Linked DNA regions of Homo sapiens: region 2 is linked to region 1. Evidence: promoter capture Hi-C in 16 types of primary human blood cells and fetal thymus (Javierre and others, 2016). All regions are on one chromosome and are shown on one strand. The core of a region is centred on a gene start or on the middle of the fragment in contact, and the rest is flanking DNA. Distances in the headings are between cores, read along the strand shown.

The links. The method cuts DNA at HindIII sites, captures the fragments that hold promoters and counts their contacts. A CHiCAGO score of 5 or more calls a contact.
Region 2: a contact is called between a fragment that was not itself captured here and the fragment with the promoter of CYB5R2 in region 1, in 1 of 17 cell types (naive B cells). The highest score is 5.0, in naive B cells.

Annotation. Positions count from the first base shown.
Region 1 is chr11:7,671,848-7,676,046 of GRCh38, forward strand. CYB5R2 (cytochrome b5 reductase 2) reads right to left here and starts at 1,653. Exons shown (of 9, transcript NM_016229.5): 1 at 1,572-1,653; 2 at 901-1,044; 3 at 604-676. The coding sequence starts at 978. RefSeq lists enhancers at 1,266-1,315, 1,336-1,435 and a silencer at 1,956-2,165. The HindIII fragment of the contact is 8,029 bases long and covers 1-4,199 here.
Region 2 is chr11:7,337,044-7,341,784 of GRCh38, forward strand. The region is part of intron 3 of SYT9 (synaptotagmin 9); the gene reads left to right. Among named protein-coding and RNA genes, the nearest start is that of SYT9, 88 kb to the left of the region's middle. The HindIII fragment of the contact is 763 bases long and covers 2,568-3,330 here.

The DNA.
Region 1 (4,199 bases), core at 403-2,902:
ACTCCTAGGGCTGGAATCTGCAACTCGTAGGGCTGGTCCCTCCTTATGTGGGTCTGAGGCCCCTGCAGAGAATCTAAGTGACCTTGGGGGCAGGGCACACCTGACTCATTCCTGCCTACCCGCACATTCTGGGCCTTTCCCCGACCACTGGTTCCTCCCATCCCTCCCAGGTGCACAATACTTTGTAGTTTCTGAATTTTCATATCCATCAGTCACTCTACTTTCACAACAACCCAAGTGAGGTAGACAGGCAGGCCTGGGAAATCCCATTTCATAGACTGAGGCTCAGAGAGATTGAAGGACTTCCCTTAAGTTCCCCAGCAAGGAGCCTTCCATGAGATTTTAGGCCTTTTGGCTCTAGGTTCAGTTCTTTTCAATGCTCACTGAGGTACCACTCTCGTGTCAGCCCAATTGGAATAATGAAGAAAAGAAATTTTCTGTCCCACATCCATCCCCCTATCTATCTCCCTGAGCTCACAGGCTCAGGAGGAGCAAGAGGGCATCTTCCACACCTCAGGACGTGGGAAACCTGTGTTTCTGTTAAGAGAGGAGGGCCTAGCCCCCAGAGGCCCCAGTCCTGGTGATGACCCAAGCCCGGCTCACCTACAGGAAGCCCTAAGACATGGTCCGGCGAAGGCAGTCCAAAGCGGAACCTCCGGGTGTTGTGGCTGATTTTCTGATAAAACAAAACATAGGCAGGTTCTGTCAGCTTTCTAGAAGCCTTGCTGGGCAGCTGAGATGCCTGGGAAAGGAGGTCCGTTTGGCGCTATTCCAGCACACACACACACACACACAGGGCGGCGGGGAGTGAACTGGAGGCCATGAGATGACTGTCTGGATGCCCTGCCATCCCAGCCATCATCCACTTACTGCCTTCCACCCACAGGGCTGACCCATTACCTCTTTCTCAATCAAGGGCAGCGGGTACTTGGCTTCAGGGTCCTGTAAGGTGATTGGCTCTCTCCTCCTGGAGTTCATGCTCTTCAGGACCAACACGAGCACAGTGACCCCAGTGACGGTGATGGTCAGGAGCAGGGACGGGTCCTGGCAGACACAATGTGAACAGAGCACCTCAGGTCTTGCCCGCCCTGGACAGGGCAGCTCTCAGGCGCAGAACACCCTCCCCACACCAAAGGCACAGGAGCTGAGCTCTGCCTGCAGGAAATAGGCAAAGAGAACAGTAGTGACACAGAAGGCGGCTGGGAGAGCCTGTCGTGGACCAGAGGGTAGGGAGGGGTCAGCTGCAGGTCACACAGGAAGGATGTTTCAGGCCCCTGGAGCAGGCAGCACACATGGCCTGGGGTGCTCAGGTCACTAGGCCCCTCCTGGCTACAGCCAAAGGTTCATACACTGGAAGTCCCTTCCTTGAGGTGAAGGGGGAGGACATCACCCCTAACACACAATCCGGAATGAGGGGCCCAGTCCCTAAAGACAGAACTAGGGTGCGTAGCTCTAAGAGGTGCCCCGTGACTTAGGGCCTGGGGACTCCCCAACAGTCTCCTGGACAGGGCGAAGGGGGCCTGGGCACTCAACTGCCAGAGACTCGGGAGCCTCCCCGCATCTGTCCCTACCCTACAAGGCCGCCCTGCTCCTCTCCCAACTCAAGCCCGACAGGGAAAGTTGCCTCTCCTCCCGCCGGGTCACTGGAGTCTCAGCCTTCCGGAATCCGAGCCGGCCCGCCCCACTCCCCGCCCTTCGCGGTCCCGCCCACGACCTCTCCCCACGCCTCCCGCTCCGGCCCCCAACCTCCCGGTCGGACGTTCGTTCCCGGCTCTAGCCGGCCTCCGCGCCTCTGGCCTCTTTCCTTCCGGCCGTCCCGACGGAGATATTTCTTCAATACTCCATAAATACACCCCGCCGCGGAACCCACCCGGAGTGAGACGCCCAACACGTCGTCGAACTGGGGTTGGCCGGGGGCCGCTCCCCGCCGCGGGCCCGCAGACTCGTGGCGTCGCCCCGCAGCTCCGCCTGGCCGACGGGGAACCGGCCGAGACCCGGACACGCACGCCCGGGAGGACAAAAGCGCGGGCGGACCCCGCAGGCTGGGACCCCGGCGGCTGGCCCGCTCCCCGAGAAGGGCCGTGGTCGGGGGGCTCTCACTCACGAGCCGCTGGCTCTGGGTCAGCCCTGCCCCCAGGGCAGCGCTCCATCATGAGGCTGGCGGGGCGCTGAGCCGTGGCGTCCTCGCTCCTGCGCTGCCCCTCTGCATCCTGGCCCCTTCCCTGCACACGCAGAGCTGCCACACTGAGCGCCCCTCAGCTTACTTAAGCTCGGCAAGGCTGGAGAAGGCCGTCTGGGTGACCGGGCGGAGGGGGATGCTGGGGAAGGAAGAATTCAGGCAGCTGCAAAGAGCGCGCGAATATATTCATTCGACATACCTCATGGGCGCCTACCCTGGGCCTGGTCCGGGGCGGGTGTTTGCGGGGTGGGGCCGAAGCAGGGGCGTCGCCGAGTTGAAGACGTGTACTCCGAGCGCTCCTGCGTTCATTCATTCGCTGGGTGGAGAGAGGAAGGACAAGAGCCCCGCGCCGATCGGAGGGGAGCAGAATAGTAGGCACAGTTAGAGGGTCTTCACGGTGCGTTTCGGAACCTTGGCTGCCCGGCTCGCCCTTGATTACAGGCAAAGGCAAATTCTTGCCTCAGGACCTGTGTGAAACAGAGAAGCCCAGAAGCAGATCCCCACCTGTTTGACTCTGCTAGGGCTGCTGTAACAAAGTGCCGCAGACTGAGCGGCTTAAACAACAAAAATTTATTGTCTCGCAGGTCTGGGGGCTGGAAGTCCAAAATCAAGGTGTGGGCAGAGTGGGTTCCTTCTGAGGGCTGTGAGGGAAGGATCTGTTCCATGCCTCTCCTAGGTTTGTAGGAGAGGGGCTAGGAGAAGGGGCATCTTCTTCCTATGTCTCCACATTTTCATCCCTCTGTGTGTGTCCCTGTGTCCAAATTTCCCCTTTTATGAAGACACCAGTCATATTCAATTAGGGTCCATCCTAATGACCTTGTTTTAACTTGATTACCTATGTAAAGGCTCTACCTTCAAATAAGGTCATATCCTTAGGTACTGGGGCTTAGGGCTTCAACATAAGAATCAGGGTGAAAACAATAACCCATAACACTTTACCAACCCTTCTCCCCAAGACACACACCACCACAGGCTCAAAAATTCTTGCTGTGTGAATGAATAAACAAACTTAATTTTCTCTCTTTGACTTAATCAAATGCCTTTACTTTTGATTTACCTGCAGGTGCTTGGTTATTATAGGCAGATATTTTAATTTTTGACAATGCGATAAGTGTAAAATGATGTATCAGGAATCCAATTTGCATTACCTAATAACTGCTAATAAGTTTGAGCACCTTTCATATATTTATTTCCCATGGAGTTTCCTTTTCAGAAAAAAAAAAATGCCTGCTCATAAATTTTGCTCATTTTTCTGTTGTCTTTTTCTTACTGATTTTTAGGGGTTTTATATGTTTTAGATATCCCTTCTTTGCCAGTTACATGAATTAGTAATGTTTTCTCGTAATTTGTAACTTATTCTTTCTTTTTTCTTTCTTTCTTTTCTGTCCCACCTTTTTGTGGTGTAGTCTGATGAATAGAAATTTGAATTGCAGTATAACCAAATATACCAATCTTCAATTTTTTTGCCGTTATGGTTAGTGATTTTTGTGACTTGTCTATTTCTACCCAAGCCCTTAAAGATATTCTATATTTTCCCCAACAAGATTTAAAGATTTTCCTTTCACATTTAAGTTTTTCAACCACTTGGAATTGATTTCTGTGTAGGATGTGAGGCAGGGATACAATTTCATTTTTCCATGTGGCTAATGTGTGTTTTTCAGTAACATTTATTGAATTGCTCACATCTGGCCACTGACCTGCAACTGACCTGCTACCCCTGGCCTATATCAGTTTTCATAGGTGTGTGAGTCTAGCTCCGGCCTCCCATTTCTCTTACATTATCTAGCTGCCCAACCTTGTCGCAATACTACACTGTTTTAGTTACGGTAGTTTACAACAAGTGTTTATGTCTTTCATTCTTATACATTCTTTAGATCTCAGGTCAGATATCACTCCCTTGGAGATGCCTGCTGTGATCCCCCAACTTAAGTACATGTACATATTATAATCTGTTAAGTTTAACTTAAAGCTGCCTCCTTAATGTTTTAGTTTCACCCTAAAAGTTTCTTCGTACATAGTG
Region 2 (4,741 bases), core at 1,699-4,198, 330 kb before region 1:
ACTGTAGACATCTTTACCTCCCTGGTTAGCTGTATCCCTAGGTATTTTATTCTTTTTGTGACAATTGTGAATGGGATTGCATTCCTGATTTGGCTCTCGGCTTGGCTGTTGCTGGTGTGTAGGAATGTTAGTGATTTTTATATGTTGATTTTTGTATCCTGAAAATTTGCTGAAGTTGTTTCTCAGCTTAAGGAGCTTTGGGGCCAAAAAGATGGATTTTTTTAGGTATAGGTTCATGTTGTCTGCAACCCGAGATAGTCTGACTTCCTCTCTTCCTATTTGGATGTGCTTTATTTCTTTCTCTGCCTGATTGCTCTTTCTCTGCTTGATTGCTCTGATCAGGACTACCAATGCTATGTTGAATAGAAGTGGTGAGAAAGGGTATTCATGTCTTGTGCCAGTTTTCAAGGGAATGCTTCCAGTTTTTATCCATTCAGTATTATGTTGCCTGTGGGTTTGTCATAGATGGATCTTATTATTTTGAAGTATGTTCCTTCAAGGCCTAGTTTATTAAGAATTTTTAACATAAAGAGGTATTGAATTTTATCAAAAGCCTTTTCTGCATCTATTGAGATAATCATGTGGCTTTTGTCTTTAATTCTGTTTATGTGATTAATCACATTTATTGATTTGTGTATGTTGAACCAACCTTGCATCCCAGGGATAAAGCCTACTTGATTGTGGTGGATTAACTTTTTGATGTGCTGCTGGATTTGGTTTGCTAGCATTTTGTTGAGGATTTTTGCATCAGTGTTCATCAAGGATATTGGCCTGAGGTTTTCTTATTTTGTGTGTCTGCCAGGCTTTGATATCAGGATGATGCTGGCATCACAGAATAAGCTGGGGAGGATTCCCTCCTCCACAGTTTTTTAGAATAGCTTCAGTAGGAATTGCACCAGCTCTTCTTTGTACATCTGGTAGAATTCGGCTATGAATCTCTCTGTCCCTGCACTTGTTTTGGTTGGTAGGTTATTTATTCTTGTTTCAATTTCAGAGCTTGTTACTGGCCTGTTAAGGGATTCTGTTTCTTCCTGGTTCAGTCTTGGGAGGATGTATGTGTCCAGGGACTTATCTATCTCTTCTAGGTTTTTAAATGTGTGTGCGTAGAGGTGTTTGTAGTAGTCTCTGATGGTTGTTTGTATTTCTGTGGCATCTGTGGTTACATCTCCTTTGTCATTTCTAATTGATATTGTCTCTTTTCTTCTTTATTAATCTAACTAGTGACCTATCTATTATTATTAGCTTTTTCAAAGAACAAGCTCCTGGATTCATTGATCTTTTGAATGATTTTTCATGTCTCAATATTCTTCAGTTCAGCTCTGATTTTCATTTCTTGTCTTCTGCTAGTTTAGAGTTGCTTCACTCTTGCTTCTATAGTTCTTTTAGTTGTGATGTTGGGTTGTTAATTTGATACCTTTCTAGCTTTTTGATGTGTGTGTTTAGTGCTGTGTATTTCCCTCTTAACACTACCTTAACTATGTACCAGAAATTCTGTTATGTTGTGTCTTTGTTCTCATTAGTATCAAAGAACTTCTTGATTTCTGCCTTAATTTCATTATTTACCCCAAAGTCATTCAGGAGCAGGTGGTTTAATTTCCATGTAATTGCATGGTTTTGGGTGATTTTTTGTCTCGATTTCTATTTTTATTGTGCTATGATCTGAGAGTGTGTTTAGTATGATTTTGGTTGTTTTGCATTTGCTAAGGATTGTTTTATGTCTGATCGTGTGCTCGATTTGAGTATGTGCCATGTAGTGATGAGAAGAATATATATTCTGTTTTTGAGTGGAGAGTTCTGTAGATGTATATCAGGTCCATTTGGTCCAATATTGAGTTCAGGTTCTGAATATCTTTGTTAATTTCCTGCCTCAGTGATCTGTTGAATAATGGCAGTGGGGTGTTTAAGTCTCCCACTATTATTGTGTGAGAGTATAAGTATTTTTGTAGGTCTCTTAAGAATTTGCTTTATGAATCTGGGTGCTCCTGTGTTGGATGCATATATATTTAGAATAATTAGGTCTTGTTAAATTGAACTCTTTACCAATATGTAATGACCTTCTTTGGGCTTTTTTTGTTTGTTTGATCTTTGTTGTTTTAAAGTCTGTTTTTATCTGAAGTTAGGATTGCAACTCCTGCTTTTTTCTGATTTCCATTTTCTAGGTAGATTTTCCTCCATCCCTTTATTTTGAGGCTATAGGTCTCATTGCATGTGGAATGGGTCTCTTGAAGACAGCATGTCCTTGGGTCATGCTTTTTTTATCCAGCGTGCCATTCTGTGCCTTTTAAATGGGGCACGTAATCCATTTACATTCAAGGTTAATATTGATATATGTGCATTTGATCCTGTCATTGTGTTGATAGCTGGTTGTTACGCCAGCTTGTTTGTGTGGTTGCATTTTAGTGTCCCTGGTCTGTGTACTTAAGTATGTTTTTGCACTGACTGCTAACAGCCTTTCCTTTCTATATTTAGTGTTCCTTTCAAGATCTTTTGTAAGGCAGGTCTGGTGATAACAGACTCCCTTAGCATTTGCTTGTCGGAAAAGGATCTTATTTCTCCTTTACTAGGGAAGCTTAGTTTGGTTGGATATGAAATTCCTGGTTGAAGATTTTTTTTTCCTTAAGAACTTTGAATATAGGCCCCCTAATCTCTTCTGGTTCGTAGAGTTTCTGCTGAGAAGTCTGTTGTTAGTCTGATGGTGTTCCCTTTGTAGGTGACCAGTCCTTTCTCTCTAGCTGCCTTTAGCATTCTTTCTTTCATTTCAACCTTGGAAAATCTGATGATTATGCATCTTGGAGATGATCTTCTTGCGTAGAATCTTGCAGGGATTTTCTGTGTTTTCTGAATTTGACTGTTGGCCTCTCTAAGAAGGTTGGGGAAGTTTTCATGGACAATATCCTGAAATATGTTTTCCAAGTTGTTTGCTTTCTCCTCATACCTTTCAGGAATGACAATGATTAATAGATTTGGCCTGTTTACATAATCCCATATTTCTCAGAGGTTTTGTTTGTTCCTTTTCATTGTTTTTTTCTTTATTTTTGTCTGACTGCCTTATTTCAAAAAGCCAGTCTAAAAGTTCTGAGATTCCTTCCTTAGCTTGGTCTGTTCTGCTGTTAATACTTGCAATTGTATTGTGAAATTCTTGTAATGTGTTTTGCAGCTCTATCAGGTCAGTTAGGTTCTCTTTTATATTGGCTATTTTTTCTATCAGCTCCTGAATAATTATATTGTGATTCTTAGTTTTCTTGAGATGAGTTTGCCATTCTCCTAAATTTTAACAATCCTTGTTCCTATCCATATTCTGAATTCTATTTCTGTCATTTCAGACAACTAAGCTTTGTAACAAACCCTTGTTAAAGAACTAGTGCAGACATTTGGAGGATATAAGACACTCTGACTATTGGAGTTGTTGGAGTTCTTGTGCTGGTTCTTTCTCATCTCTGCATGTGGGTATTCTTTTAACTGCTGGGCTGCTTCTGATTGAAGTGGTCAGGCAGGAGCAGGGTTATTGTGCTAGAGTCTGAGATCAGGCAGCCCTAACCAGTGAGGATAAGTGAGGACCAGGACCTGTATGGAGAACAATCCAGTCACTTTTCTGTGAGGTAGGTGTTCTGTACTGGAGGTCTGGACAAGCCCCTGGTGCCTGCAGACTCTCTAGAGCCTGGAGACAGCAAGGGTGATGGCTGCAAGACAGCAAAGATGGTAATCCACCCTTCCCACTGGGAGTTCTGTCCCAGGCAATTGCAGAGCTATTACTGGCTCAGTAGCCCCAGTGGGGAATAGTGGAGTCTTAGGCCAGGAGGCCACATCCAGTGAGGAGATACAGGATTAGGGAGCCACATAACAAACACTCTGGCTACTTTTTCACAGGGCTGCTGCAGTGTGCTGGGGGTCTGCTCCAGTTCCTACTCACCTTGGATTTTCTAGCACCTGAAAGTATCAACAGTGAAGGTTGTGAAACAGCAAAGATGATGGTCTGTCCCTACCTCTGGGAGCTCTGTCTCAGGGAAGTTTGAAGCTGTTACTAGCTGGAAAACACCAGCAGAGGTGCTTGTAGACCTTGGCTGGGAGATTCTACCCAGTGAAGAGAAATGGGATCCAGGACCTGCATGAAAATGCAGTCTTCCTGCTTCTTCAGAGAGCTGCTGTGCTGTACTGGAGGACTGCTCCAGTCTCTACACACCTCGGACTCCTTTGAGTTGGAAAACATTAATCTTGTGTTTAGGCACAGGATGTAAGGGCTACTGGAAGATGCTTCTGATATGCGTTGGCTGTGTCCCCACCTAAATCTCATCTTGAAATGTAGCTCCCACAATCCCCATGTGTTGTGGGAGGAACCTGGTGGGAGGTAATTGAATCATAAGGGTGGATTTTTCCCATGCTGTTCTCATGATAGTGAATAAGTCTCATGAGATCTAATGGTTTTATAAAGGGCAGTTCCCCTGCACACGTTCTCTTACCTGCTGCCATGTAAGACATGCTTTTGCTCCTCTTTCACCTTCTGCCATGATTGTGAGGCCTCCTCAGCCATATGGAACTGAATCCATTAAACCTCTTTTTCTTTATAAATTACCCAGTCTTAGATATTTCTTCATAGCAGTATGAAAATGGACTAAGACAGCGGCCATGAGACTGAGTTGGTTTTATGAAGCAGAGGAGTCAAGTTTAAATCACATATATGATTACATATGTGTAATCATACTGTGTGTAATCATACTGATATGACTCACATCTCAGTCATATT